7 separate regions of the Homo sapiens genome follow, and all the other regions are linked to region 7. The links are contacts of gene promoters, found by promoter capture Hi-C in blood cells and fetal thymus (Javierre and others, 2016). All regions are on one chromosome and are shown on one strand. The core of a region is centred on a gene start or on the middle of the fragment in contact, and the rest is flanking DNA. Distances in the headings are between cores, read along the strand shown.

Region 1 (4,247 bases), core at 1,658-4,157, 480 kb after region 7:
TAGTCTCGATCTCCTAACCTCGTGATCCGCCTGCCTCGGCCTCCCAAAGAGCCACCGCGCCCGGCCTAACTCTTCAGTCACTATGACTTATGGGTAATTGAGGCTCAGAGGTATATTTGTCTTTTTTCCATATAAATGTCAAGAATGCTAATTATTAATTTTTAGAGAGAGATCTGTAATAAATATTTATTAGTAATATTTCTGTACTTTTTAATGTGAAATTATATTTATAGAAAATACCTCATCAAGGCCAGGCACTGTGGCTCATGCCTATAATCCCAGCACTTTGGAGGCTGAGACAGGCAGATCGCCTGAAGTCAGGAGTTCGAGACCAGCCTGGTCAACATGGTGAAACCCCGTCTCTACTAAAAATACAAAAATTAGCCGGGCATGGTGGCATCTGCCTGTAATCCCAGCTACTCGGGAGGCTGAGGCAGGAGAATCGCTTGAACCCGGGAGGCGGAGGTTGCAGTGAGCTGAGATCGTGCCATTGTACTCCACCCTGGGCTGCAAGAGTGAAACTCCATCTCAAAAAAAAAAAAGAAAGAAAAGAAAAGAAAATACCTCATCAATAAGTGTTAAATGAGTCATGGTGAATTTTGCTCTTGGTATATAAGAAACTGACCTTGAGTCTTGGTATATGAAAAACTGACCTTGACTTTGGGATTCTTCACAGAGGTACCAGATAAGTAAAGTCTCATCAAATAAGAAAAATAAACCTTACATTCAGATACATATTTAGGTATCTTCCTGGTTTAGATGCAAAGAAACAAGGATTCTTTCACAGGACCTGCATCATGTAGAAAAGGTTTTCAGTATGGTTCAACTGGCAGTGACTTTCAGAAGAATATATGATGAATCACAATATATAGTTCCCCCTCTTTACACTAAAGATTATTTTTATTTACCCTGTATGCTGTTTTAGTTGAATGCCATGTAGCAGACTGTTGGTTAATATCATAGAATGAGGTGTGTTAATGAATACAGTTATTTTCACACACACAAAAATCTAATAAAGAGGAAAGAAAGAAGTAATGAATCTTCAGATCTTTAGAAGTCTTAGAAATGTGTGAATGGGTGGAAAGAATGGCCCCGTTTAGTTTTGTAAAGTCTGTAATTATAAAACAGCTCTTCTACATGACCTCATAGACAATCCCGAGTCCCAGACGCTTTGCAGAGAAGCATCCTTGCCTTTCCTTGAGGCGGTGATCAGGACATAGATAGTGGGAAGGATGTGCCTGGGAGGAAGGTCCCAAGACCACGTCTCATCCTGGCATGCCAGTGCCACCCACCTGCCTGTGCCGCAGTTGTTTGTCATTGACTGGGCAAAGCAGATGACCCATGTCTCACTTGCAGGTATTGACTGGGCTCCCAAGAGCGACCGCATTGTCACTTGTGGGGCAGACCGCAATGCCTATGTCTGGAGTCAGAAAGATGGTGTTTGGAAGCCAACCCTGGTGATCCTGAGAATTAATCGCGCAGCTACTTTTGTGAAGTGGTCCCCCCTAGAGAACAAATTTGCTGTGGGAAGTGGAGCACGACTCATTTCTGTTTGTTACTTTGAGTCTGAAAATGACTGGTGAGTGACATCTGAATTTTTTCTATCCCTCTCTATAGAATTTACATTTGCACTGCTGTGTGAGGGCTCACCATAACTCCAGTTTTTCTCATCCGGAGTTGTGTGGTTTTTTCTCTGAAATTCTCGATTCTGTCTGAGCATTTTCCCTTCTCATGTGCATGTTAAGTTAAATCGCACGTTTTTTATATTAACATAGAGCTATTGTGTCCATGTTCTGATCGCCTAACTTGTTTCTTCTGCAAGATGCTATTACTGTTCTCACTCTATACTGCGCAAATTGCTGTTTTCTTACTCTCATTTACAAATAATAACATTGAAAGAGTCTCCGTTCCCTGAGGAATATTTTTTCTTTTTTTTTTTTTTTCACAGGATATCTATGTAGGATTCCTACAGATAACAATGTTCTTTTTTTTTTTTTTTTTTTTTTTTTTTTTGAGACAGAGTCTTACTCTGTTGCCCAGGCTGGATGGAGCGCAGTGACACGATCATGGCTCACTGCAACGTCCGCCCCCTGGTTCAAGCAATTCTCCTGCCTCAGCCTCCTGAGTAGCTGGGATTACAGTCACCTGCCATCGTGCCCGGCTAATTTTTGTAGTTTTAGTAGAGACAAGGTTTCACCATCTTGGCCAGGCTGGTCATGAACTCCTGACCTCATGATCCACCGCCTCGGCCTCCCAAAGTGCTGGGATTACAGGCGTGAGCCACCACGCCTGGTCAATGTTCCTTCTTTAAAGCTTATTTGCCAACCAAATCTGTGTCTTGGTGTAATATTTTACTTGTTTAAACTGTTGAAGTCAAAACTCACCAGAATCTTAGAAGTCTAATCAGCTATTGCACATTTTTTAAATTACTTCTTGCTGACCCAGTCAAAACACAGGTTTATTTTATGGCCAAAACTTATTTTAACTACTCCTTCCTGTTTGTTTTGATAAGGAAACAATTATTCTCCAGCCTGGCCAAGATGGTGAAACCCCATCTCTACTAAAAATACAAAAATTAGCCAGGCACAGTGGCAGGTACCTGTAATCCCACCTACTTGGGAGGAAGCAGGAGAATTACTTGAACTCGGAGGGCAGAGGTTGCAGTGAGCCAAGATCGTGCCACTGCACTCCAGCCTGGGCGGCAAAGTGAGATTCTATCTCAAAAAAAAAAAAAATTATTTTTCTGTGTGGCATGTGTTCAGCATGACTGGTAAATATCCTTCAACGTAAAGTTGTCATTTACTACTAAACTGGCAGTGTTTGTGTTTCTACTAAAAATAGCAGAGTATACATGACTCTTTGTAGCTGTTTTGTTATTTGTATTCTGCTGAAATTGAAAGAAGGGGATTATCATGTTACCTTTGTAATTTAGTAAAACTTCAGAAATTTTATTCTTCAAAAAGAGATTGGGAATTTGCGGTAAAATTGAGTTATGGGCCAGGTACAGTGGCTCATGCCTGTAACCCCAGCACTTTGGGAGGCCGAGGCAGGTGGATCACCTGAGGTCAGGAGTTCGAGACCAGCCTGACCAACACGGATAAACCCTGTCTCTACTAAAAATACAAAAAAATTAACGGGGTGTGGTGGTGCATGCCTGTAATCCCAGCTACCTGGGAGGCTGAGGCAGGAGAATCTCTTGAACCCAGTAGGCAGAGGTTGCGGTGAGCCGAGATCACGCCATTGCACTCCAGCCTGGGCATCAAGAGTGAAACTCCGTCTCAAAAAAAAAAAAAAAAATTGAGTTACGAATTTGAAACATACATTTTTCTTTCAAATGTGAAATCAAGGCTAACAAAATGTTACCTGCTAGAAACTATTTGGAAGTTTCATTGTAATGAGATAGGAAACTAACTTCATTAATATTCTCTCAAGGCTAAACTTTATGTCAGCTGGTACTCCTTGCAATCTTACAAATTTCTACAGGAAACTTTTCTTCCAAGTTAAGCTTCAACCTCAGTAATTGTTTACATTTTTATTCGTTGAGAATTAGTGTCAAGTATAGGTAAATTGGACTTTATTATGGTACAAGGTATTGTCTTTGAACAAGCTGTATGTTTAGGGCAGTTTCTCAGCTGTAGAACAATTATTTCATATTTCATAGGAGTACTTTAAAACAACTTCTCAGAAGTTTATAATTCAGCCATATGAACTAATTATTTTGCTTGCCATCTTTTCCTTAATTAAAAAAATTACATTATAAAGGCCAGGCACGGTAGCTCACGCCTGCAATCCCAGCACTTTGCGAGGCCAAGGCAGGCGGATCACGAAGTCAAGAGTTCGAAACCATCCTGGCCAACATGGAGAAACCCCATCTCTACTAAAAATACAAAATATTAGCCAGGTGTGGTGGTGCATGCCTATAATCCCAGCTACTTGGGAGTCTGAGGCAGGAGAATCGCTTGAACCAGGGAGGTAGAGGTTGCAATGAGCCGAGACCATGCCACTGCACTCCAGCCTGGGCAACAGAGCAAGACTCTGTCTCAAAAAATATGTATACATTATGAAACAATTCGAAATACTGTCTTTTTCTCCTTTTTTAGAGACTTTGTGGGGGATTTTGGTTTTTTATTTTATTTATTTATTTATTTTTTGAGACAGGGTTTCTCTCTGTCACCCAGTCTGGAGTACAGTGGTACAAACACGGCTCACTGCAGTCTCCAACTCCTGGGATCCAGCAGTCTTGCCAC
Region 2 (3,966 bases), core at 1,242-3,741, 470 kb before region 7:
ACTGAAAGGTGGGAGAGGAAGGGTCTAAGGAGGAGGGCGTTTCCCGGGAGAACGCCCAGAGCTCGGCTCACCTGGCGATCCTAATTACAGGGGAGTTTCACCCCCACATTCTTGGGCGCTTTCTTTTCTTAGAGGAAACTCGAGCTTGTGTCTTTGGTCCCGGAGGGCTTAAGCCCGGCAGCCAGGACAGCACGGGTCACTGATTCCAAGAAGTTGGGAGGAGGACGTGGGCCCCACCGACGCACAACAGACCCCTCCCCAACTTAAGTGCACTAGTTGTAAAATGTGTAGCTGGTCAGGGGATGGGGGGTGGTCTCCAGAGCTCTGAGGGTCAGGGAAGAGGAGAAGGGACGGGGAGGAGAAGGGACAGGGGAGGCGGAGAAGGGCCAGGAGAGGAGGGGGAGACACACGGGGAAGGAGGAAGAACCAAGAGGAGGGGGAGGGGGAGGGGGAGGGAGGGGGATAGACTGGGGAGAAGAAGGGACAGGGGAGGAGGGGGAGACACACGGGGGAGAAGGAAGAACCAGGAGGAGGGGAGGGACAGTGTCGAGGGGCAGGGGAGGAGGGAGAGTGAACGGGGAGCGGAGGGGCAGAGGGAGAGGTACAGCGGGGCGGGAAAGAGAGACAGGGAAGAAGCACAGGGAGGAGGGGAGGGAAGGAGGAGGAAAAGTAGGGGGGAGGGGATGGGGAGGGACTGGGAGGAAGGAGAGGGCCAGGGGAGGAAGAAGAGGGGCTGTGGAGGGCCAGGGGAGGAGTGGGAGAGACCGGGAGAGGTGGAAGGACGCGGGGGAGGGGAGCTGGAGGGAGGGAAAGTACCTTCCCGCGTAAAGTCCCCTTCTGAACCCCGAGGTGGAAAGCCCTGACCTCCCTGAGCCCCGGGCCCTGGGCTTACCCGGTAGGTGCTCTCCGTGAGCCGGTTCACCTCCTCGGGCCCCCGGGACATGGCTGCGGCCGCCGGGCGAGCAAGCGCGGGAGGACGCGGCTGGGCCTCGTGGCCGCCGGACTCCGGGCAGCGGGAGGGCCGGGGCGCGACTAAGGGGCTCTGGAGGGTCGGCCGCCGCCGCAGCCGTCGGCCCGAGAGTGCCCGCGCGCGTCTCCGCTGCGAAAATGTCAAAACTTGCGGCAGCGCCGCCCTGGCCTTCTTCGAGGAGCAGAGGAGAAGCGGCCGGACGCCGCCAGAGGAAGCTGGGCGGGCCGGGCGGCCCCACCTGAGGCGGGCGGGGCAGACGGGGGCGGGGCCGCAGGGCCGGAGGGGCGTGGCGTACCCACCTGAGGCGGCCTGGTGAGCGGGGCCCGGCCGGGGTGGGCGGGGAGGAGGCGGGGCCAGGCAGCTGGAATGGGCGTGGCCAGAGGGAAGCGGGCCCCCCGAGTGGGCGGGGTCACCCCACCTGTGGCGGACAGGGCAGCGAGGCCACGGTGCGCCCCCTCGCGGCTCTCCCAGAGCTCCGGCGACGTAGGGCCCGAGACCCTGGAGTGGGGACCGGTGTGGAGTGGGCTGCTCGCTTTGCTGTTTTGCTAGGGCAAGGGCAGCCTGGGGGTGTTTAGACTGTGGTCCTGGAGCCCTTGTTTGCCTCGCGTGGTGCTGGCCCCGGGGACCCCGAGGCCCACTTCCTCCATGAGGGCTTCCTTCAAGCCCTGCGTTTTGGGGACCAAGGGAAGGGGCCACATTCCCCAGTTGTATTGATTTCCCTGATTGATCTCTTCTTGCCCCGCCGCTCACTGACCCCAAAAGTTAGAGGGACCCGTGGGGGCATCGGCCCTCCTAGGTGGAGAAAACGGGCTGCCACTTGCAGTTTTGAAAGCTCCTGATATATCAAAAAATTAATAAATGCCAGGGTCTAGTTACCGAAATGTTAGTACTTTTTTTTTTTTGAGATGGAGTCTCACTCTGTCGCCTAGGCTGGAGTGCAGTGGTGCGATCTCAGCTTGCTGCAACCTCCGCTTCCCAGGTTCAAGCGATTCTCCTGCCTGGCATGAGCCATCCTGCCTGGCCCCCAGATAGAAGCTTTTTGTTTGTTTTTGAGACAGAGTTTCACTCTTGTCCCCTCAGGCTGGAGTGCAGTGGTGCTCTCTCAGCTTGCTGCAATCTCTGCCCCCCAGGTTTAAGCAATTCTCCTGCCTCAGCCTCTCGAGTAGCTGAGATTACAGGTGCACGTGCCACCAAGCCAGGCTAATTTTTTTGTATTTTTAGTAGAGACGGGGTTTCACCATGTTGGCCAGGTTGGTCCCGAGCTCCTAACCTCAGGTGATCCGCCCTGCTCAGCCTCCCAAAGTGCTGGGATTACAGGCTTGAACCACCGCGCCCGGCCCAGTAGTACATTTTTAAACTTTACATTAACAACGACCTTTAACTCAATGCAGTGTAACCATGCTACTCACGAGATTGTTGTAGGGTTTAGAAAACCACCTGAGCTGAAGTGTTAGGGAAGCCTCTCTTCTTGTCATCACTCAAACTCTGTGGAGGTGTGTGGCTCCTGGGCTCCCTATTTTGTCTCCATCCCGGCCTCAGCCCTGCCCAAGGGTGAGGCAGCTGCCTTCTTTGGGCCTCTCTTCCAGGATTATGTACCTTGGGCTGGGTGACAGCCTTCTCCCCAGTAAGAACCACCATTTAGCTACCTGAGACCCGCACCCAACAAGGGCAGAGGTCTTATTCTGATTTTTTAAAACCTCTGGGCTTGGTGGCTCATGCCTGTAATCCTAGCACTTTGGGAGGCCAAGGCAGGCGGATCACTTGAGGTCAGGAGTTCGAGACCAGCCTAGCCAACATGGTGAAACCGCCCTGCCCCCGTCTCTACTAAAAATACAAAAATTAGCCAGGCATGGTAGCACGTGCACCTGTAATCTCAGCTACTCGGGAGGCTGAGGCAGGAGAATTGCTTAAACCTGGGAGGCAGAGATTGCAGTGAGCTGAGATAGCACCACTGCACTCCAGCCTGAGGGACAAGAGCGAAACTCTGTCTCAAAAACAAACAAACAAAAAGCTTCTATCTGGGGGCCAGGCAGGATGGCTCATGCCTGTAATCCGAGCACTTCGGGAGACCAAGGCAGGAGGACTGGTTGAGTCTAGGAGTTCGAGGCCAGCCTAGGCAATATAGGGAGCCCACCCCCATCTCTGCAAAAAATATAATTAAAAACATTAGCCAAGTGTGATAGTGTGCATCTGTAGTCCCAGCTATTCCGGAGGCTGAGGTAGGAGGATGGCTTGAGCCCAAGAGGTTGCAGTGAGCTGTGATGGTGCCACTGCATTCCAGCTTGGGCCACAGAGTGAGACTCTGTTTCAAAAAACAAACAAAAATGCCAAAACGTCTATGTGAGTGCAATTGCATCTTTTATGGGCTGTTAAGATGTGAGACTTCTGGCCAGGCGCAGTGGCTCACGCCTGTAATGCCAGCACTTTAGGAGACTGAGGCAGGCAGATCACCTGAGGTCAGGAGTTTGAGACCAGCCTGACCAACATGGAGAAACCCCGTCTATACTAAAAATACAACATTGACCAGGTTTGATGGTGCATGCCTAAATCCCAGCTACTCAGCAGGCTGAGGCAGGAGAATCACTTGAACCTGGGAGGCTGAGGTTGTGGTGAGTGAGATCACGCCATTGCACTCCAGCCTGGGCAACAAGAGCGAAAATTTGTCTCAAAAAAAAAAAAAAAAGAAAAAGAAAAGAAAAGAAAAAAGAAAGATGTGAGACTTCTAAACTAATCTTGTGATAAAGTTCACTAGGAAATATACACAATGAAGGCACTGTGTGGCCCAGATGGGAACATCAAGAGGGTGAGTACCACTGGACTTAGAACAGAAACCACCACCTGGACTTGGGGACTGTTTTATTGGGTTTTGCAAACTATAAAACACATCATGCAGCTAGGCACAGCGGCTCACGCCTGTAATCCCAGCACTTTGGGAGGCCAAGGTGGGTGGATCACTTGGGGTCAGGAGTTAGAGATCAGCCTCACCAATATGGTGA
Region 3 (4,037 bases), core at 822-3,321, 450 kb before region 7:
GCACAGGTAAGCGCGTCGCACCTTCCCTGAGTGGGTCCAGCTTTCGGGAATCACCTGCCGGTATAGCCAGCACCTGTTAGCTGATCCCCGCCCCAGGTCTGCTGCATAGACGAGGAGACTGAGGCACGAACAGGTGAAATGACTCAACTGTTATCTTTTTTTTTTTTTTCTGAGACAGAGTCTCACCCTGTTTCCGAGGCTAGGGTACTGTAACGCAATCACAACTCACTACGGCCTCATCCTCCTGGGCTCAAGCAATCCTCCCACCTCGGCCTCTCGAGTAGGTGGGATCATAGGTGTGCATCATCATACCCAACTAATTAAACACTTTTTTTTTTTTCCAGACAGGATCTCTGTTGCTGGAGTGCAGGGGCACGATCTCGGCTCGCTGCAGCCTCCGCCTCCCGGTTCAAACGATTCTCGTGCCTCAGTCTCTCAAGTACTGGGATTACAGGCGTGCACCACCAACCCCGGCGAATTTTTGTATTTTTAATAGAGATGGGGTTTCACCATGTTGGCCAGGATGGTCTTGAGCTCCTGGCCTCAACTGAGCCTCCCGCCATGGCCTCCCAAAGTGCTGAGACTGCAGGCATGAGCCACCACACCCAGCTAATTTTTGTATTTTTAGTAGAGACAAGGTTTCACCACGTTGGCCAGGCTGGTCTTGAACTTCTGGCCTCAAGTGATCCACTCATCTTGGCCTCCCAAAGTGGATCACTTGTTTCTGATCTGTTTTAGAGGTATCTTTGAGAGCCTGGTGAACGTTACAAGACCCCTTCTTAAAAATTTTTTTGAAATCAATTTCATGGGCTTCAAGAACACCACAGGAATAGATTAAGAACATGTCCTTCATGTTTGCAGTGTATATGTTTAATTGGGCTTTGGCCAGAGGCAGTGGCTCACGCCTGTAATCCCAGCACTTTGGGAAGCTAAGGCAGGAGGATCGCTTGAACCCAGCAGATTGAGATCAGCCTGGGCAACATAGCAAGACCCTGTCTCTAACAACCCCCGCCCCGCCCCCCACCCAAAATTAGCCAGGTGTGGTGGTGCGTGCCTGTAGTCCCAGCTACTCAGGAGGCTGAGGTGGGAGGATCCACTGAGCCCAAGAGGCTGAGGTTGCAGTGAGCCATGATCACACCACTACACTCCAACCTGGGTGACAGAGCGAGACCTTGTCTCAAAAAGAAAAAAAAAAGGAGTTTACATTAGCTCTTAACTTTCAATTCCAGATGTGAATATAATAATGTAATCCATCCACTTACTAAAAAAAATATTTACTGAGCACCTCCTATGTGCTAGGCACTGTTCTAGGTGCTGGGGATACTTGCTTTTGTGTAGTTTACCTTTTAAAGGGGGAAGACAAGTGATAAAAATGGACAAACTGTAGTAGTCATTAGTGCTGTTCTCTAAATATTTCAAATACTCCCCCTTCTTGGTACATGGTAGGATTTTTAATTTTTCTTTAATTAGTAGAAAATTTTTTTTGGCTGGGCATGGTGGCTCAGCTCATGCCTGTAATCCCAGCACTTTGGGAGGCCAAGGCAGGTGGGCCACCTGAGGTCAGGAGTTCGAGACTAGCCTGGTCAATATGGTAGACTAAAAACACACAAAAAAATAGCTGGGCATGGACCTTTAGTCCCAGCTACTTGGGAGGCTTAGGCAGGAGGATCACTTGAACCTGGGAAGCGGAGGTTGCAGTGAGCCAAGATTGTGCCATTGCACTCCAGCCTGGGCACTGCAGCGAGACTCCACCTAAAAAAACAAAAAACAAACAAACAAACAAAAAAACTGCAAACAACAACAAAAAAAAACACCAAACAAAAAAACCCACAAATTTTTAAATTTTCTTTTCTTTTTTTTTTTTTTTTTTTAAGTAGTGGTGAGGCCTTGCTATGTTGCTCAGGCTAGTCTTGAATTCCTGAGCCCAAGCGATCCTCCTACCTTGGCCTCCCAAAATTCTGGGATTACAGGCTTGAGCCATGGAGCCCAGTCATGGTACAATTTTACTTCCTGCTTCTCTTATGGTTGGCTGAAATCATGTGACCAGTTCTGGCCAATGAATTGTGAGGAGTGGTGATGCCATACTTCAGGGCTGAGCGTTTAATTGCTGGTGAGAGGCCCCCTAGAGCTTTCCCTCTGCCCCAGGCATGAGAACTGGAAATATTTAAAATGAAGTCTGTTTAATCAGTATAGATCCCTGAGTCATGAAGCATGAGTGAGAAATAAACATTTTTTTACATCACTGAGATTTTGGGGTTTGCAGTGTATGTTACAGCAGTATAACCTGGCCTGTTCTGACTGATGCAACAATAAGAAGATCATAGAATTTTATAGATTGCTAGGAGATTAGAGCAATGGAGAAAAGAAAATGTTGAGCAGGATCAATGGTATTGCTGGGGACTAGGTGTGGTGGCTCATGCCTGTAATCCCAGCACTTTGGGAGGCTGAGGCAGGAGGATTGCTTGAGCTCAGGAATTCAAGACCAGCCTGGACAACATAGCAAGGCCCCATCTCTAACAAAACCCAAAAATAACCGGGCATGGTGGTGTGCACCTGTGGTCCCAGCTACTCAGGAGCCTGAGGTAGGAGGACGGCTTGAGCCAGGAAGGCTGAGGCTGCAGTAAGCTGTGTTTGAGCCACTGCACTCCAGCCTGGGCAACAGAGCAAGACCCTGTCTCAAAAAAAAAAAAAAAAGGGACGGAAAGGGTGGAGGGGAAGGAAGATGGAATGGTGAAGATGTGATCAAGGTGGGCTTCTTTGAGAAAGTAATATTTGAAAAGGAAGAAGGCAGTAAGCTGTGCAGGTACCTGGCGTGAAGGGGGTCCCAGGCAGGGGAGCAGCCAGGGATACACCAAAGGTTGGAGGTGTGTCTGATGTATTCCAGGAAGATCAAGCGGGTGGTGGGTGAACCAGGTGAGAAGTGAGGTCAGAGAAATAAGAGGGGCCAGGTCATGTGGAGCCTCATGGCCACGGGAGGATGTCACCATGTTTTCGGCGTGAACTTGGGAACCATGGTAGGGATTGGAACCCAAACATGACATGATATGATTTATTTATTTATTCATCCTGAGACAGAGTTTCGCTTTTTTTGCCCAGGCTGGAGTACAATGGCATGATCTTGGCTCACTGCAACCTTCTCCTCCCGGGTTCAAGCCATTCTCCTGCTTCAGCCTCCCAAGTAGCTGGGATTACAGGCATGCGCCACCATGACCGGCTAATTTTATATTTTTAGTAGAGATGGGGTTTCTCCGTGTTGGTCAGGCTGCTCTTGAACTCCCGACCTCAGGTGATGCACCCGCCTCGGCCTCCCAAAGTGCTGGGATTACAGGTGTGAGCCACTGCGCCTAGCCTGACATATGATTTATGTTTGTAAAGGATCTCTCTGACATCTGGGGAGAGATAGACAGCATGCAGGGGTGGGGCAGGATGGAAGGATGGAAGTTGGGGGGCACTTGTATATTTCAGGAGACAGCAATCTGTGGCTCACACTGGGCAGTGACAGCAGAGGTGGGGACAAGTGTCCAGGTGGACAGATCCTGGATATTTTATTTTGTTTATTTCATTTGTTTATTTCCAAGGCAGGGTCTCTCCCTGTCACCCAGGCTGGAGTGCAGGTGGGGCAATCACAGCTCACTGCAGTCTCGACCTCCTTGGCTCAAGCGATCCTCCCACTTCAGCCTCCCCAGTAGCTGGGACCACAGGCACACGCCACCATGCCTGGCTAATTTCTAAATTTTCTTGTAGAGATGAGAGGGGAGTCTCACTATGTTGCCCAGGCTGGTCTCAAAATCCTGGCCTCAAGGGATCCTCCCACCTTAGCCTCCCAAAGCACTGGAATTATACGCTTGAGCTACCACACCTGGCCTTATAATTTCAAGATAGAACCAATACTATTTCATGATAGATTCAATGAAGGATGGGAGAGATTCAAGGCTTTTGGCCCCATCCTTCCAAGAAGGATGAAATTGCTGTCAACTGAAGCGTGGGGGAGGTTACAGATGGAGTGGGTTTCATGGGGGGAAGATCAGAGTTGGTTT
Region 4 (4,292 bases), core at 402-2,901, 510 kb before region 7:
CATCCTCTTGGGTTTGAGTGGATTGCTAATGGTTCTCATTCTAGTGTTAAGGAACGCCTGTGGAGGATCAGCTACCTGTACTTACTTACAAAGGCAATGTTTCAAATAGATTTCGATGAATTTCTATCCACTGAATAGAAATTTCCAGGAGATTTTGTTTTTACTCTGCCTAATTATAGGGGTGTGGGCGGGGAGGGACGTGAAAGGGGGCATTGGTAGCATGTTGCTGATGGCCCCAGGACACAGGCCTGCCTGGAAACTTCTGGATGTCCCTGGCATTTTTTCTTTTTTTTTTTTTTTTTTTTTTTTTGAGACGGAGTCTCACTCTGTCATCCAGGCTGGAGTACAGTGGCACGATCTCAGCTCACTGCAACCTCCGCCTACTAGGTTCAAGCAATTCTCCTGCCCCTGCCTCCCGAGTAGCTGGGATTACAGGAGCCCACCACCACACCCAGCTAATTTTTATATTTTTAGTAGAGGCGGGGTTTCACCATGTTGGCCAGGCTGGTCTCGAACTCCTGACCTCAGGTTATCCGCGTACCTTGGCCTCCCAAAATGCTGGGATTACAGGCACGAGCCACTGCGCCCTGCCTCCCTGGCATTTTCCCACTGATTGGTTTATTCACCAAAGTTGTGTGGAGTAACTACCATGGGCCAGACCCTGTGCACACAGCTAAGGATTAGAAGGCACAGTTTCCCTCTCATGGATTTCATGGTGCAGCCAGTGTCCAGGTTTCATTTCAACACGTGTTATTCCTGTATCAGCAGAAAGTCATAAAGACAAATGCTAGGACAAGTATAAGACAAATAACTATTTAGGACGTGGGTCTAAATTTTAAAATACCCTAACTTTGAAGTACAGACAATAAGTCATTCCTACGGTACTCAGACTTCACGACTCACAACACGTGGCGATTGTTATGTGTTTGTTCCATCTAGGAACAATAAGCTTCATGATATTAATCACCCCAAAGAGACCATTCAAGTCTCACCGACCCCTTCCCCAAATGCATGCTCCATTTATATAGACGACCAGATGCAAAAAAGAATGAACAACTACCCAACATTCAAAGAGGCAGGTGCTTTACACACATACCCTTCAGAATAAATGAATCAGGAGGAGAGAGAGAATAGGACGACTCTTGTTTTTAATCAAACTGTGATAACAATGAAAAACAACCCATGCCTCGACCTTTCCATAGCCCTGGTCTTATGCCCGAGAGCACTTTCAACTATGCTCCTATTTTTGTATTTATTGCTGCAGTTTTGAATATTCTTTTTTTTTTTAAATATTCTTGATTTCTTGATTTTGGGGAGTAACTGCAGCTTCCTACGACAGCAGATGAGGCCTCAGGTCTCTATACCTCTCACTCTTCCTTTCCAATGGACTTTCTATGCAATTAGATGGCAATTTGCTGATGAAACTATAGTCAGTGTTCATTATGACTTTGCACTAAGGCTGATGGTTCCCTTTCTCAGTAAAGCCTGGCTGTTTTTCCTGGGATGGACAATTGTTTCTTTCCGCCCCGCCACCTTTGCTTAGTTTTCTGTTTATCTACCTTAAACTTGTCCCCATGCTGTATTAGACTTGGCTGAGGCCTATCAGTGTTATTTTTCAAATGTACAAAACTCTCAGCTAATCTCCTGTTCCGTTTTTCCCTTGACTTCCTCTAAGGACTCTCCACCATCTTGCTCAGTGTGGCTTGACTGTCACGATTGCCCTAGCATGGCCCTCCTGGTGGCCTGTGGCAGCGCTCTTGTCAGCCAGGTAGGTCCACGTCTTCCTATTTCTCCAAAATGGAGATCACATTCCAAAAATGATCTAAGAACTAATGCGTGAGAGGTAAATCTGAGTCCCCGTGTGTCTGAAATTATCTTTACCTTGACGTTTGCTATTTTGCTGAGTAGAGCAGAGTAGATTGAAACTATTTTCCTTAGAATTTTTAAGACATCACTTGGTCAGGCGTGATGGCTCATGCTTGTAATCCCAGAACTTTGGGAGGCTGAAGTGGGAGGATCACCACTTGAGCCCAGGAGTTTGCGACCAACCTGGACAACATATCGAGACTCCCATCGCTACAAAAAATAAAAACAATTAGCCAAGGGTGGTGGCTTGTGGCTGTGGTCCCAGCTACTTGGGAGGCTGAGGTGAGAGGATCACTTGAGCCCAGGAGTTTGAGGCTGCAGTTAGTTGTGACTGCACCACTTCACTCCAATTTGGGTGACAGAGTGAGGATATGTCTCAAAAAAAAAAAAAAAAAAAAAAAAAAAAAAAAAGAGCTATTACTCCACTGTCTTTAGCATCTGGGTCTGCTGAAGTCAGCTGCCATTTCTTCCTATGTGACTTTTTTTTAAAGCTTATTTCTGGAAGCCTTCTCTTTATTCCTGTGTTCTGAAATTGCACCATGGTCTGTCCCAGCATTTTTTTTGTTTGTTTTTCATTTATTTTACCGGACACTCAGTGGGACCCCTAGCCATGTGGAAAATTATGTCCTTCAGGTACAAATATCATTCCTGTTTTATTTCTTGTCTCTTCATTCTTTCTGGAACTCTGATGAAGATTTTATATATCCTGGATTTATTCTCTAATCTTTTTTGATTTTCCACTTTCAGTAGTTTTGTTCTATAACGCTAACAGATATCCTCAACTTTATGTTCCAATTCTATTTTTTGAATTTGATATATCTTAATTTCTAAGAGCATGTTCATGTTTCTTGATTGCTCTTTTTGTTTTGGTTTGGTTTTTGAGATGGAGTTTCACTCCGTTGCCCAGGATGGAGTGCAGTGGTGTGATCCTGGCTCACTACAACCTCGGCCTCCCAGGCTCAAGTGATCCTCGTGCCCCAACCTCCCAAGTAGCTGCGGGGGGTGGATCACAGGCATGCGCCACCACGCCTGGCTAATTTTTTGTATTTTTGGTAGAGACAGGGTTTTGCCATGTTGCCCAGACTGGTCTAAAACTCCTGAGCTCAAGCAATCTGCCCGCCCTGGCCTCCCAAAGTGCTGGGATTACAGGTGTGAGCCACCACGCCCAGCCTTTTGATTGCTTCTTTTTAAAAGTACTCTCCTGTTCTTGTTTTATAGATGCAGTATCTTCTCCTGTCTGAATTTTTTGGTGTGTTTTATTCTAGTTCCCGTATCATCTCCTGATTACCTTTCACTGTTTGATATCCCTGTCTTTCATGTTAGAGACTCTCCTCAAACGTGTGGTGATCCCTGATGGCCAGTTTGTATTGAGGCGTGCAGCCCGTCACTGCCGGCTGGAAGCTGTGGGTGTGTGCACAGGGTAGTGGCTGACTTGCTGGCTTCATTCCAAGCCAATGGCCACTCTACAGTCATCAGGGGCCACTGGGCTTCTGCTGAGAAGTTTCTAATTTCCTGTCATTGGGTGGGGGACAATCATCGGATGGTCAGCTTTCGCAGTCAGGAAGGGGGCCGGGACTGGACAGTTTGGAGCTGATTTTCAGGAACTCCTCTGTTTTCAGCTCAGAGTTCTGCCTCCTCCACCCTTGGCTGCTGTTTCCAAGTCTAGAGCACCTCAGATTATCCTGAGGTTAAATCTCTGCTCTGCCAGAGGGAGCTGCTGGTGGTGGTGGCTGGGGTAGGGAAGGGAAGCCAGGAGCTCCGCCACCCTGTGCACCAGACTCCGATTCCTGCCCCCACCTTCTGCGGCCCAGTCCTCAGCCTCTGGGGCCCCTGGGGTGAATGGCTCAGTTTCCATCAGACTCCTTTCCCCAGGTTCTTCAGGCTCTCTGAGGTCACTGAGCACTCTCTGTCCATTTCCTATCACCCCAGATTTCTTTAGGTCTCTTGTCAATGGATGTTTTCCAGGTCTTTTTGCACTGTGGATTTATTGGGTATTGTTTTTAATTCCTTTGCCATCATTTTAATGGGTTCTCAAAAGGAAGAAAATAAAATACACAAGGTGCCTCTCCCATGCCTGCCTGGAAGCCCGCTCACCTGGTATCACTAGACGCAGTCAGGTGCTTGGCACCTACGCGCAACCAGTGGCCAGGAAGCCCCAGAGCCAGCCAACTCCCCCACGATCCTCTCTACAAGATGGCAAAGCCTCATTACGTAGCCACAGCTGCTCTTTTTCTTTGCTTTGCTTTTTTTCTTTTCTTCCCTCCATCCCTTCTTCCCTCCTTTCTTCCTTCTTCTCTTTCTGAGACAGGGTTTTGATCTGTCACACAGGCTGGCGTGCAGTGGCATGATCACCACACACTGTAGCCCCAAACTCTTGGGCTCAAGTGATCCTCCTGCTTCAGCTTCCCGAGTAGCTGGGAGGTGTG
Region 5 (3,991 bases), core at 1,409-3,908, 490 kb before region 7:
ATCTAGGTTTTCAATTGTTAATTTGAAAAAAGAGTGGGGAGGGAGAACAATGTACAGGAAAACTGAGCTCAGCCCATCTGAGAAGGTAACTTGAAGGAAAAAATAATGGTCTTTAACCTAGTTCAAGATTAGAAAATTTCAGCCAGGTACAGTGGCTCACGCCTGTAATCCCAGCACTTTGGGAAGCCAAGGCAGGAGGATTGCTTGAGGCCAGGAGTTTGAAACCAGCCTAAGCAACACAGGGAGACTGTGTCTCTACAAAAAATAAAATTTAAAAAAAGACTAGAAAATTTCATTCTATTTTAATTACTAGACAAAGGTTTTACATTTGCCTATGAATGGAATGGTTCAAAATCACTTTCCTTTGTAGTTTAAGTGTGGATGATTATACTGGGTTTAAGGTCCACAGATACCATAACTCTATATAGTTATGTTTATTTCTTGGCAATGCCAGGAAAGCGTTCAGGTTGAAGCTTTGGCAATTAGCAAGCTATCAAACTTTGGAACAATGTCTCGTCCACACCGGCCTCCATCAGATGAGGGATTGTGGAACCCTGCCCCAGAATTCAAGCAGGTTTTAAATTCTGAACTTCATAGGGAATAAGTAATGCCTATAAGACTGAAGTAAAAATCATTTCTTCAAATTCCTACTAGGATAATACCAGTATCCACGTTTGCTTTGTTCTTAGAGGTACATGTTCTTATTTGAAAGAATGAAACCTGAGGTCAGGAGTTCGAGACCAGCCTGACCAACATGGCGAAACCCTGTCTCTACTAAAAATACAAAAAATTAGCCAAGCATGGTAGCACGTGCCTGTAATCCCAGCTACTTGGGAGGGTGAGGCAGGAGAATCACTTGAACCCAGGAGGCGGAGGCTGCAATGAGCTGAGATGGCGCCACCACACTCCAGCCTGGGCAAGAGACCAAGACTCTGTCTCAAAGTATCAAAAAAGAAACAAACAAACAAAAAAAAGAAAAGAAAAGAAAGAATGGAAACACAATCCTTCCTATTCTAAGCTGCTATACCAAGATGACTACCATGTAATATAACTTTCAATCTTTTTTTTTTTTTTTTTCAGACAGAATTTCCTTCTTGTTGACCAGGCTGGAGTGCAATGGTGCGATCTTGGCTCACCACAACCTCTGCTTCCCTGGTTCAAGCGATTCTCCTGCCTCAGCCTCCCGAGCAGCTGGGATTCCAGGCATGCGCCACCACGCTTGGCTAATTATTTTTGTATTTTTAGTAGAGACGGGGTTTCTCCATGTTGGTCAGGCTGGTCTCGAACTCCAGACCTCAGGTGATCCACCCACCTCGGCCTCCCAAAGTGCTGGGATTACAGGCGTGAGCCACTGCGCCCGGCCATAACTTTCAGTCTTAAAAGTAACATTTCAACCAGAATCTGAAAATGTGCCTCTTTTCTGGGATCTCCTCTTTGTGTAAGTTTGTGCATGTGTGGGAGAGACAGAGAAGTAACATGTGAATGTGTGTACTTACGTTTCATTCCACCAACTCTGTAAAGTCTCACATTTCAGGCTTTCAAACACATAAAAATCTACACATTTCTGCAACATTTATTATTATGCCTACGTTGAGCCCACCCCATCCTGGACCCAGGAAACACAAAGATGAATGAAGAAAGAGCTCCAGGCCGGGTGTGGTGGCTCACGCCTGTAATCCCAGCATTTTGGGAGGCTGAGGCGGGCAGATCACCTGAGGTCAGGAGTTTGAGACCAGCCTGGCCAACAAGGTGAAACCCTGTCTCTACTAAAAATACAAAAATTAGCTGGGCGTGGTGGCACGTGCCTGTAATCCCAGCTACTCAGGAGGCTGAGGCAGGAGAATCACGTGAACCTGGGAGGCGGAGATTGCAGTGAGCCGAGATCGCACCATTGCAATCCAGCCTGGGCAACAAGAGTGAAACTCCGTCTCAGAAAAAAAAAAAAAAAAGAAAGAGCTCCAGTCCTTGGAAATGTACCGTCTTACACGGAAACAGGTACAAAGAAATACCAAGGCAATTCACAGAGACGTGGTGAAAATAAGAAATGCAAACACCTGAAATATTACGTTATCATTTAGAAATATAAAACTACAGATAAATGGCATGTATTAAGGACCAGTAACTGATTAGTTACTGATTCTGAAATAGCTGTTAAAAGATACATACTTTGAAGACCACAGAGTATACTAGGCTGTTTGACTAAGTGCTCTTGCCTGCCTAGTTACTGTTTTTAAAAGGTGTGTCCTGGAATAAAAAAGCAATCAATAAATTTACAGGAAAGGACATCTTATGCACTGGGTTACGTTGTTTAGAAAGCCCCAGAGCACTGAACAGGTAACAGGAACTTTATCGGATCAAAGTACACTGACTTACTGCACTAGTTCTTTCCAAATGCTACTTTTATAGTAGTATCTGGAATCATTCTAGCTAACTTCCTTCAACCAGACTCTGTGAGACAGATCATTCTACCTTTTTTTTTTTTTTTTTTTTGTGAGATGGAGTCTCGCTCTGTTGCCCAGGCTGGAGCGTAGGTGGCACGATCTCGGCTCACTGCAACCTCGGCCTCCCAGGTTCAAGCGATTCTCCTGCCTCAGCCTCCCAAGTAGCTGGGTTTACAGGTGCCCGCCACCACGCCTGGGTAATGTTTGTATTTTTAGTAAAGATGGGATTTTGCCATGTTGGCCAGGCTGGTGCTGAACTCCCGAACTCAGGTGATCCAACCACCTTGGCCACCCAAAGTGCTGGGATTACAGGCATGAGCCACGGCAATCAACCTCATTCTATTGTCTTAAAATCGCAGCTGGGTGGGTGCAGTGGTTCATGCCTATAATTCCAGCACTCTGGGAGGCTGAAGTGGGCAGATCACTTGAGGCCAGGAATTCAAGACCAGCCTGGCCAACATGGTGAAACCCCATCTCTACTAAAAATACAAAAATTAGCCAGGCATGGTGGCAGGGACCTGTAATCCCAGCTACTCAGGAGGCAGAGGTGGGAGGATTATTTGAACCCAGGAGGCGGAGGCTGCAGTGAGCCAAGACTGTGCCAACTGCACTCCAGCCTGGGTGACAGAGCGAGATTCTGTCTCAAATAAAATAAAATTGCGGCCTTTGCGATCTGAGGAATTGTTCAAAAACTCCAAATGATTTAAAAACAGTTTAAATTCTTTACTTTTATTTCTCAGATACCAGTAAGGGGAAATCATTTCTTTTTCTTTTGAGACAGGTTCTTGCTGTGTTGCCCAGGCTGGAGTGCAGTGGCGCAATCTCTGCTCACTGCAGCCTCGACCTCCCGGACTCAAGCGATTCAGCCTCCAGAGTAGCTGGGATTACAGCCACACGCCCCCATGCCCAGTTAATTTTTTTGTTTTTTTCGTAGACATGGGGTTTCACTATGTTGTCCAGGCTGGTCTCGAACTCCTGACCTCAAGCAAGCTGCCTGCTTCAGCCTCCCAAAGTGCTGGGATTATAGGCAGGAGCCCCCACACCCAGCCAGGAATCAACATTTCTTTTTTTTGTTGTTTTTTTTTTCACAAATAGCACTCTTTATTTGCCACTATTTGAAGTCTGAACTTTAAACAGATTCTTGGACTGGTGGTTCATATCCATCAGCTCGTTCAACTTTAGCACCTGTCTCGTCCCCAGTGGCTTTTCCAGAACTACTGCCTTCACCATGAAGCTCCATGAGCTTTCCCAATTCAAACTTGGGCTTCTTCAGCATTTTTACTTTTCTAACGAAGACATCATGGAGAGGATAAATAGACTGGCAAGCCTTTTCTATGTCTTTTCCAATGCTGTCTGGAATCAATTTATTGACCACTTCTTTCAAGTCATTTGTCTGCACCTCTCGGGTCATGATTTCGATCATCTTCTTCCGGATTTGGCGGACCTGTTGGTGCTGAGCATAAGAGGTCTTCCGTATCTGATTGTTGCGTTTTTTAGTAAAACCAACACAGAACAGACGAAGCAAGTAACCATCGGTAGTCTTGACATCA
Region 6 (3,804 bases), core at 31-2,530, 450 kb after region 7:
AATTACAGGTGTGCGCCACCACGCCCAGCTAATTTTTGTATTTTCAGTAGATACAGGGTTTCACCATGTTGGCCAGGCTGGTCTTGAACTCCTGATCTCAGGTGATCCGCCCACCTCGACCTCCCAAAGTGCTGGGATGACAGGTGTGAGCCACCACATCCAGCCCTAAGCAGTACTTTTGACAGCCTTTCAGGAGTCTGGGGCCCTCCAAGGTTGGGGAGTCTTAGGAAATACCTGTTATACTAGTCAGGATTCTTCAGAGAAACAGAACAAATAGGAGATATTAGATAGAGATATAAAGAGATGGAAAATTGACTCACACAATTATGAAGGCTGGCAAGTCCAAAATCTGCAGAGCCAGTGTCCCAGTTCAAATCTGAAGGCTGGAAGCTTCTGCAGAACCAGAAAAGGCCAATGTTCTAGTTCAAAGGACTCACTTGAACCCAGGGTTTGAGGCTATAGTAGCTATGATCACACCTGTGAATAGCCACTGCACTCCACCCTGGGCAACACAGCAAGACCCCATCTCTAAAAAAAAAAAAAAGAAACACTGAGGTGAAGATCTGTTCCAGATCAGACTAAAGAAACAAAAATTAAGTGCAACAATTGATCTTGGATTGGCTCCAGGATTGAGAAAAAAAAAAGCCATCAGGAAGGAGAATATTCTCTTACTCAGGAGAGGGTCAGCCTTTTGTTCTATTCAAGTCTTCAACTGATTGGATGAGGCCCACCCACATTAGGGAGGCCAATCTGCTTTATTCAATCTACTGATCTAAAAGTCAACCTCACCCAAAAGTATCCTCACAGAAACACCCAGAATCCTGTTTGACCAAATATCTGGGCACCCTGTGGCCTAGTCAAGTTGACACATAAAATGATCCAAGTGTGACATAATAAGAAATATAGGCCGGGCACAGTGGCTCACACCTGTAATCCCAGCACTTTGGGAGGCCAAGGTGGATCACTTGAGGTCAGGCGTTCGAGACCATCCTGGCCGACATGGAGAAATCCCATCTCTACTAAAAATACAAAAAATTAGCTGGGCATGATGACACATGCCTATAGTCCCACCTACTCGGGAGGCTAAGGCAAGAGAATCGCTTGAACCTGGGAGGCGGACGTTGCAATGAGCCGAGATCACGCCACTGCACTCCAGCCTGGGCGACAGAGCGAGACTCCATCTCAAAAAACAAAAAAAGAAATATCTATTTTGTTTCTGACACAGAGCTTTTAAAATTGTTATACTACCCTGTATAACAGGGGTGAGAGGAACATCTTTTTTTTTTTTTTGAGACAGTCTCATTGTATCCCCCAGGCTGGAGTGCAGTGGGGTGATCTCGGCTCACTGCAACCTCTGCATCTCCAGTTCAAGCGATTCTCCTGCCTCAGCTTCCCGAGTAGCTGGGATTACAGGTGCCTGCCACCACGCCAGGCTAATCTTTGTATTTTTAGCAGAGACAGGGTTTTGCCGGGTGAGCCAGGCTAGTCTCGAATGCCTGACCTCAGGTGATCCACCCACCTCAGCCTCCCAAAGTGCCTGGATTACAGGCTGTGAACCACCGTGCCCAGCCTAACCTCTTTTGTTATAATATTTGGTCTTAGCTCCCAGTTCCTCACGTAGGAGCTTTTAAGCCCCTTGGAATCTCTGGAGTGGTAAGTGTCTTTTTGTATGCTAATGAGATGTCTGGTGGATGAGGGTGCTAGATGGTTCCAGAAAGAAACTAATTGCCAGAGGAACCAACTCTGTGATTAGAGGGTAGGAATTTTCAGTCCCACCCCTCCACCTCCAGGGATGAGAGGAGCTGGAGATTTATTTCAATTACCAATGGCCAGTGATTTAATCAATCATGCCTACATTATAGAACATCCATAAAAACCTTAAATGATGAGGTTTGGAGAGCATCTGGGTTAGAGAACACGTGGTGGTGCTGGGAGGGTGGTGTGCCCAGAGGATATGGAAGCTCTGTGTCCCTTCCCACACACCTTGTACTTGTCCATCAGTAACTGAAACATCTTTTGTTATAATATTTGGTCTTAGCTCCCAGTTCCTCACACAGGAGCTTTTAAGACCTTTGCAATCTCTGGAGTGATAAGTGTGTCTCTCTATGCTAATGAAATGACTGGTGGATGAGGGTGCTAGATGGCTCCAGAATGATTTTATTAAAATAATCTAAGCTTGCATAACATGGAAAAATGTGTCGGTAACAAAATGTCTAAGTGGCTCTGGCCTTGAGGAGATTTACAGGTTCATGGGTTACAGATTTCACTTATTAAATTAGGTAAGTAACACAGGGAATTCCCAAGTCTGCTTGTATGATTGTCTTACAAGTATGGTATTTGCGATAATATGCTATTTATACACACCACCTGAGACTACCCTGTGCCCCTAGACATCCCGTGACTGGTCCCATCTCTGTCCTATGGAAATGAACTGAGTGAGCAGTGGAAAAATCCACATGCACTTTTCAGTTCACCTGTATTGAACTCTACAAAATCCTTTCCATAGGAAGTTTTCCTCACTGGGAACATACCCAGCAATTAGGACAATATCTAAAGCATAAGGATTATTGTTAACTAATAACACACAATATGCATTAATAGTTTTGTCCTTTTGTTTGTTTATAGCTTTTATTGGCATTGATTCAGTATTTCCAACAGTTTTTTTGGTGACTAGATGGCAGGCATTATTGGAAGATCTGCAGTAATTGTTCACCATTTCAGCTGTTGGCACAACAAGCAAGAAACAATCTTCTTACTCTCCAACTCCACATTCCAGTTATTAAATCAAGCTCTCCTGAGAAGGAAATCCTTACGCCTTTACAAACATGTAACCTTCCTAAACTATGATGGATTATGTTCCTGATGTGTCTATATAAGCCCCACCTTCCATTCTCAACTAGCAGTAACCTCTGTGTCCTTTGACATCCAAATTGTTTTCTTTCATTCATTTGCACTTTCATTCAACGAATGTTAACCAGGACCTTCCAGATTCAAGGTATTGTGCATTTCCTTTTATTTAAAATTATTTTAGCAGCATCCCTGGTCTAAAAATAAGATAAAATATTTTGTGGACTGGTCATATCCTAATCTCTAAGTTACTTGAGAACAGAAGGATCTTACTCTACTCTTATTAACACAATAGTTGGCACTTGGTGAGTATTTATTAAATATTTGATGCCTTGAATCTTGACCAAATTCTAATTCAACTCAATTCCAATTCCAATCCAATCAGCAAAGCAAACAAAATCAGCCCACGGTAGTGTCCAACCCCTCCCTCTCTTCCATTGCCCACTTCTAAGTACCACCTTCCCTGGCACTAATTGTTAAGTCTAATTAGGGAAAAGGAGTCAGGATGGTGGGAGCAGGGGGAAGCAAAAAGAAGCAGGTAAACTACAAGTCTGCCATTCTTTATGGTCCAGACACACAGCCCTCCTCTGCAAATAACTCACAATCTTCCTGCGCCCAACAATTACAGCATAAACACTATTCCATAAAATCCCCAGCAAGCCTTTCTTTGCAGTTGGCTGCTCTTCTGCTGATTCTGCCTGTTGCCTTCTCGTACCTTCCTACTTTCTCTAACAAATCTGCCTTTATCTACAACTGTCTTGGTAAATCCTTTTACCCACGTACCACCAGCCCAGACAGCTGCCCCTCACCCATGATACTAATCTTTTAAAAGGTTGAGTCTGCATTTTGGATACTACATCACACATGCCTTAAAAACAAACATTAAAAGTAACTCACCCTCCTTAGAACCCTGATGGTTGGCTTTTATAGCAGGGCACGATGGTATAACCAGTAAGG
Region 7 (4,346 bases), core at 957-3,456:
TGATGCTGCCCCTGTTCCTCAGGGGTCTCAGGGATGGCCAGGACATCCAGGGTGGAAATGGACCAGGAAGCCTTTGCCAAATGTGGCTGAAGGAACCAATCACAGGGCCTGGTGCTCTACCCACCAAATTCATCTTTCCAGGCCGGCGTGGTGGCTCACACCTGTAATCCCAGCACTTTGGGAGGCTGAGACAGGTGGATCACCTGAGGCCAGAGGTTCGAGACCAGCCTGGCCAACATGGCGAAGCCCTATCTCTACTAAAAATACAAAAATTAGCCAGGTGTGGTGGCAGGCGCCTGTAATCCCAGCTACTTGGGAGGCTGAGGCAGGAGAATTTCTTGAACCCAGAAGGTGGAGGTTGCAGTGAGCCAAGATTGTGCCACTGCACTCCAGCCTGGGTGACAGAGCAAGACTGCATCTCAAACAAACAAATTCATCTTTCCATGTTTGGGAGTCCATGTGACATGGAGTTGGGGTATGGAGCAGCCAAGGCAGAGGTTTAGGGGACTCCAAGGGCCCCCCAAGTCACCCAGAGCTCAAGGGGCAAAAGCAAAAAGAGATGGGGCACTCACCCCAAAGCTTGGCCCATGGAAGAAACACCTACCTTTTCCAGCAACACAGCATGTGCAGCCCTGAACATTCTAGAAAATGGCTACACCAGTCCTTTCACACAGAATATGCAGACTACCCAAAACACTTCCAAAGAGTACCTCTAAAGTCTGGATAACACAACCCAGAATTAATTAATAGTCCAGTACATGGACTTCTGACTTACAAATCCCTGATTCATGGACTCCAGAAAGGGGAAGGGTAGAAAAGTCTCCCCGACGGGTGAGGGAGAAGATGTTTCCCAACTCCACTCTTAGCCACTGTGATTTTGACCACATCAAGGGTGCAATTGGCTAGAATGGGAACCACACATGATTTCCAAATAATTAATTCACTTTTGTTATTATTTTCTTTTTCTTTTGCAATTTAGGACACATTGAAAATCTCTGACACAAATCAACCTGATGGACAAGAGACCCCTTTCCTGTATTTCCAGGAGGAAATAGGTAATCTTGTCCAAGTGCAATTCCCATAAAATTCGTCTAATTCATCCCTGAGTTGCAGGTTTTCTTTGACCTCATGGTTTTTCTTTCACAAATTTTCATTAGATCCCTTGCTCTCTCTCTCCACCGCTCTTTTATGAGGGGGGAGGGGGTGAAAAGTGGTGGATAGTATTCAACCTTCTTAGCTGCCCACGTCCCATCTGTCCCTCGAATAGTCTTAAATCTGGGTCCTTTTATGGTTCCCAAAATGTGGCAGAGAGGTGGGTGCTGGCTTTCTGGCGGTGGGGAAGTGGGGGCAGTAGACACACAACCCTGCTTCCCCCACTCCCCCACCCACACACACACCCCAGGAACCTGTCAGCTCCGGGTCCATTTTGGAAATCACCACCAGAGAGGAAATGGCAGCCTGGCCTCCTGGGCTCTAAATTCGCATCTCCCCAAAGCCAGCACCAACACGGTGGGAAACCCCTCTAGATGAGGCGACATTTTAAGGCAAAAACGTTGCCCATCCCGTGCTCCCTGGGGGACTGGGGAATTGTGGCGCGATGACGGACCCTGGCGCATCCCCGCCTCCCTGCCTCGTCCTCCCCTCCCTTAGCGGGTGCATGGTCCCCAGGCATCGACGGATGCGCCGGCCACCCCCGCGCGGTTTCCAGGGCAGGGCCAGCCTGGGGGGGTGGAAGCAGGAATCCAGGGGGTGCGGGGAGCCCCCTCCAGTGCCCAGGCGACTTTGGGGAACAAGGATGAAAGGAGAGGGGAAAGGGCGCTGCAGTGGCCTCAGCCGAGGAGGGAGATGCGCGCAGGGCGCACGGTGCCACCTCCGCAATCCCTGCTCCCGGGCCCACTCGCCCGCTGAGACGGTTCCAGGCCCCGGGCGGGCTGCGGCTGCAGGGAGGCCGGATTGCCCAGCGCCTTACCTGCGGCCACCCCTGCCGGGGCCCAGGGCAGGAGGCAGGCAAGCCAGAGGATGCGGCCGAGGCGCGACCACACTGCCTGGGCCATTGCGGGGCCCGGAGCGGGAGAAGCGTGGGGCGGACGCGGAGGGAATGCAGCTGGAGCTCGAGAACTGCGGCGGTCGCTCCTCCGGGCGCGCAGCGCGGGCGGTGCGGGGAGGTGCGGGCGCCGTGCTCGCTCGTCCTCGCCGGGGGACGCTCTGTCGCTGCGCGCCGCCGCCGCCGCCCACAGCCCGCTGCGCGACCCCGGCCCACGTCAGCCGCGCCGCGCGCCCTCCTCCTCCTCCCGCCGCCCCTTGCTCCCGCGTCCCTCTCCACGGCCGCGTCCTCCCTCTCCGGGTCTCTTCCCACGGCCGCGCCCCCTGCCCTCCTGGAGTCCACGATCGCCCCTCCCAGCTTGCTTCCCCTCTAGGGGTTCCAGAGCTCCCTTCCTGCGCCCTGGCTCCTCCCCGCATCCCTCCCCACCCCAAATCCACCCCCGGCCGCATCCTTCCCCTCCACTACCCGAAACCACGCCCCCCGCACCCGCATTTTTCCCTTCCCCCGAGCCCCTCCCCGCCCTGGATCCGATGCCGCCGGCTCTGACTCAGCGTCCCCAGGGGCGTGCGCTGCGCTGCAAGCCGCCTGCAGGTCCCTTGGGGCTCTCCTCCAGGTGCCTTCTCTCTGCACGCTCGTGGCTCCGAGATGCTACTCCTCATTCAAGAACTGTTGAGAGCTTAAGGTGCGCCAGGCGTTGGGCGAAAGGCCTCGAAATTCCTCTTGCTGCTGCTGCTGCTGCTGCTTCCTCTTTTCTTTTTTTTTTTTTTTTAATCTTGAGACAGAGTCTCGCTCTGTCCCAGAATGGCGCGATCTCGGCTCACTGCAACCTCCGCCTCCCGGGTTCAAGCGATTCTCCTGCCTCAGCCTCCCTAGTAAGATGGGATTACAGGTGCCCGCCACCAGGCCTGGCTAATTTTTGTATTTTTAGTAGAGACGGGGTTTCACCATGTTGGCCAGGTTGGTCTCAAACTCCTGGCCTCAAGTGATCCTCTCGCCTCAGCCTCCCAAAATGTTGGGATTACAGGTGTAAGCCACTGTGCCCAGCCTCTTGCCCCTTCTTGATAGAGGGGCCTGAGCACCCGGCCCCTGCCGTGGGCTTGATGTCATCCCCCGGTTTACCCTCTCACAGCTGCTGTTAAGATGGGGCTCCTGCTCGTATCTGGGCCCAGGGCAACTTCTTTGTCACTGAGGGCCTTGTGGGAGTCAGGCTACTGCGGTGAGGGGTGACCAGCCTACACAGTTACTGCCATTTGCCTTAGAGGAGCAGGGCTGGGCTCTCCTAGAAGCTGGAGGGGCCTGGCTGGCCTTAAACGCTGGAAGCCCGGTGGGTTCTGGTCCCAGCTATGCTTCCGCTTTGCTACGGCTACCTGGGCGAGGGATCCTCCCACACAGTGAGGGCCTTTGACCTCCTCTCTGGCCCGTGGAGCACGGATGGACCATCACTGCACCACCCAGTGCATTGACATCAAGGCGTCTAAAGCAGGGGTCTCCAAGCCCCTGGCCGCCAGTACCAGTCCATAGCCTGTTAGGAACTGGCTGCACAGCAGGAGGTGAGCAGGGCCTGTGAGCCACGCTGAGCTCCACCTCCTGGCAGATCAGCAGGGCATTAGATTCTCATAGGAGCGCAAACCCTACTGTGAACTGCTCACGTGAGGGATCAAGGTTGCGTGCTCCTTATGAGAATCTAATGCCTGATGTTCTGTCACTGTTTCCCATCATCCCCAGATGGGACCATCTAGTTGCAAGAAAGCAAGCTCAGGGCTCCCACTGATTCTACATGATGGTGAGTATGTAATCATAATAGAAATAAAGTATACAATAAAAGTAATGCGCTTGAATCATCCCGAAACCATCCCTCCAACCCCTCATTCGTGGAAACATTGTCTTTGGTGCCAAAAAGGTTGGGGACTACTGGTCTAAAGGGCCCCTGGCTCTGGGACAGCTGTGAGCTTCCCTAAGAATGGGCCCCACTGGCCCCACTGCTATGTTCAGGGAATGGAGGGAGAATAGATTTGAGTGAGCCCCTATGAAAAGTTAAAAGGGCTAGACAGGGCAGGGCATGGTGACTCACACCTGTAATCCCAGCGCTTTGGGAGGCCGAGGCGGGTGGATCACGAGGTCAGGAGTTCGAGACCAGCCTAACCAAGATGGTGAAACCCCGTCTCTACTAAAAATACACAAATTAGCCAGACTCGGTGGCAGGCGCCTGTAATCCCAGCTACTTGGGAGCCTGAGGAAGGAGAATTGCTTGAACCTGGAGGCGGAGTTTGCAGTGAGCCAAGATTGCACCACTGTACTCCAG

What was found. Contacts are between HindIII fragments. The CHiCAGO score rates a contact against its expected background, and 5 or more counts as called.
Region 1: a fragment that was not itself captured here is called in contact with the fragment with the promoter of TMEM130 in region 7 in 1 of 17 cell types (monocytes); the score reaches 5.7 in monocytes.
Region 2: a fragment that was not itself captured here is called in contact with the fragment with the promoter of TMEM130 in region 7 in 1 of 17 cell types (naive CD4 T cells); the score reaches 5.4 in naive CD4 T cells.
Region 3: a fragment that was not itself captured here is called in contact with the fragment with the promoter of TMEM130 in region 7 in 16 of 17 cell types (M1 macrophages, M2 macrophages, naive CD8 T cells and 13 more); the score reaches 16.1 in M1 macrophages.
Region 4: a fragment that was not itself captured here is called in contact with the fragment with the promoter of TMEM130 in region 7 in 3 of 17 cell types (endothelial precursors, naive B cells and total B cells); the score reaches 7.6 in endothelial precursors.
Region 5: a contact is called between a fragment that was not itself captured here and the fragment with the promoter of TMEM130 in region 7, in 1 of 17 cell types (endothelial precursors). The highest score is 7.3, in endothelial precursors.
Region 6: a fragment that was not itself captured here is called in contact with the fragment with the promoter of TMEM130 in region 7 in 1 of 17 cell types (fetal thymus); the score reaches 6.0 in fetal thymus.

Annotation. Positions count from the first base shown.
Region 1 is chr7:99,342,937-99,347,183 of GRCh38, forward strand. ARPC1A (actin related protein 2/3 complex subunit 1A) reads left to right here. Exons shown (of 10, transcript NM_006409.4): 4 at 1,357-1,579. Among named protein-coding and RNA genes, the nearest start is that of ARPC1A, 19 kb to the left of the region's middle. The HindIII fragment of the contact is 1,192 bases long and covers 2,312-3,503 here.
Region 2 is chr7:98,399,910-98,403,875 of GRCh38, forward strand. It overlaps BAIAP2L1 (BAR/IMD domain containing adaptor protein 2 like 1), which reads right to left and starts at 1,181. Exons shown (of 14, transcript NM_018842.5): 1 at 893-1,181. The coding sequence starts at 943. RefSeq lists a silencer at 855-1,514. The HindIII fragment of the contact is 976 bases long and covers 2,004-2,979 here.
Region 3 is chr7:98,421,208-98,425,244 of GRCh38, forward strand. No RefSeq gene overlaps it. Among named protein-coding and RNA genes, the nearest start is that of BAIAP2L1, 22 kb to the left of the region's middle. The HindIII fragment of the contact is 9,559 bases long and covers 1-4,037 here.
Region 4 is chr7:98,362,743-98,367,034 of GRCh38, forward strand. The region is part of intron 1 of BAIAP2L1 (BAR/IMD domain containing adaptor protein 2 like 1); the gene reads right to left. Among named protein-coding and RNA genes, the nearest start is that of BAIAP2L1, 36 kb to the right of the region's middle. RefSeq lists an enhancer at 1-428. The HindIII fragment of the contact is 1,408 bases long and covers 948-2,355 here.
Region 5 is chr7:98,382,224-98,386,214 of GRCh38, forward strand. All of the region lies in intron 1 of BAIAP2L1 (BAR/IMD domain containing adaptor protein 2 like 1), which reads right to left. It also overlaps the pseudogene RPS3AP26. Among named protein-coding and RNA genes, the nearest start is that of BAIAP2L1, 17 kb to the right of the region's middle. The HindIII fragment of the contact is 4,374 bases long and covers 472-3,991 here.
Region 6 is chr7:99,318,917-99,322,720 of GRCh38, forward strand. LOC105375421 (a long non-coding RNA gene) reads right to left here. Exons shown (of 4, transcript XR_927798.3): 2 at 321-528. Among named protein-coding and RNA genes, the nearest start is that of ARPC1A, 5.1 kb to the right of the region's middle. The HindIII fragment of the contact is 1,785 bases long and covers 389-2,173 here.
Region 7 is chr7:98,867,808-98,872,153 of GRCh38, forward strand. TMEM130 (transmembrane protein 130) reads right to left here and starts at 2,207. Exons shown (of 8, transcript NM_152913.3): 1 at 1,970-2,207. The coding sequence starts at 2,054. RefSeq lists enhancers at 1,105-1,691, 1,692-2,277. The HindIII fragment of the contact is 4,583 bases long and covers 578-4,346 here.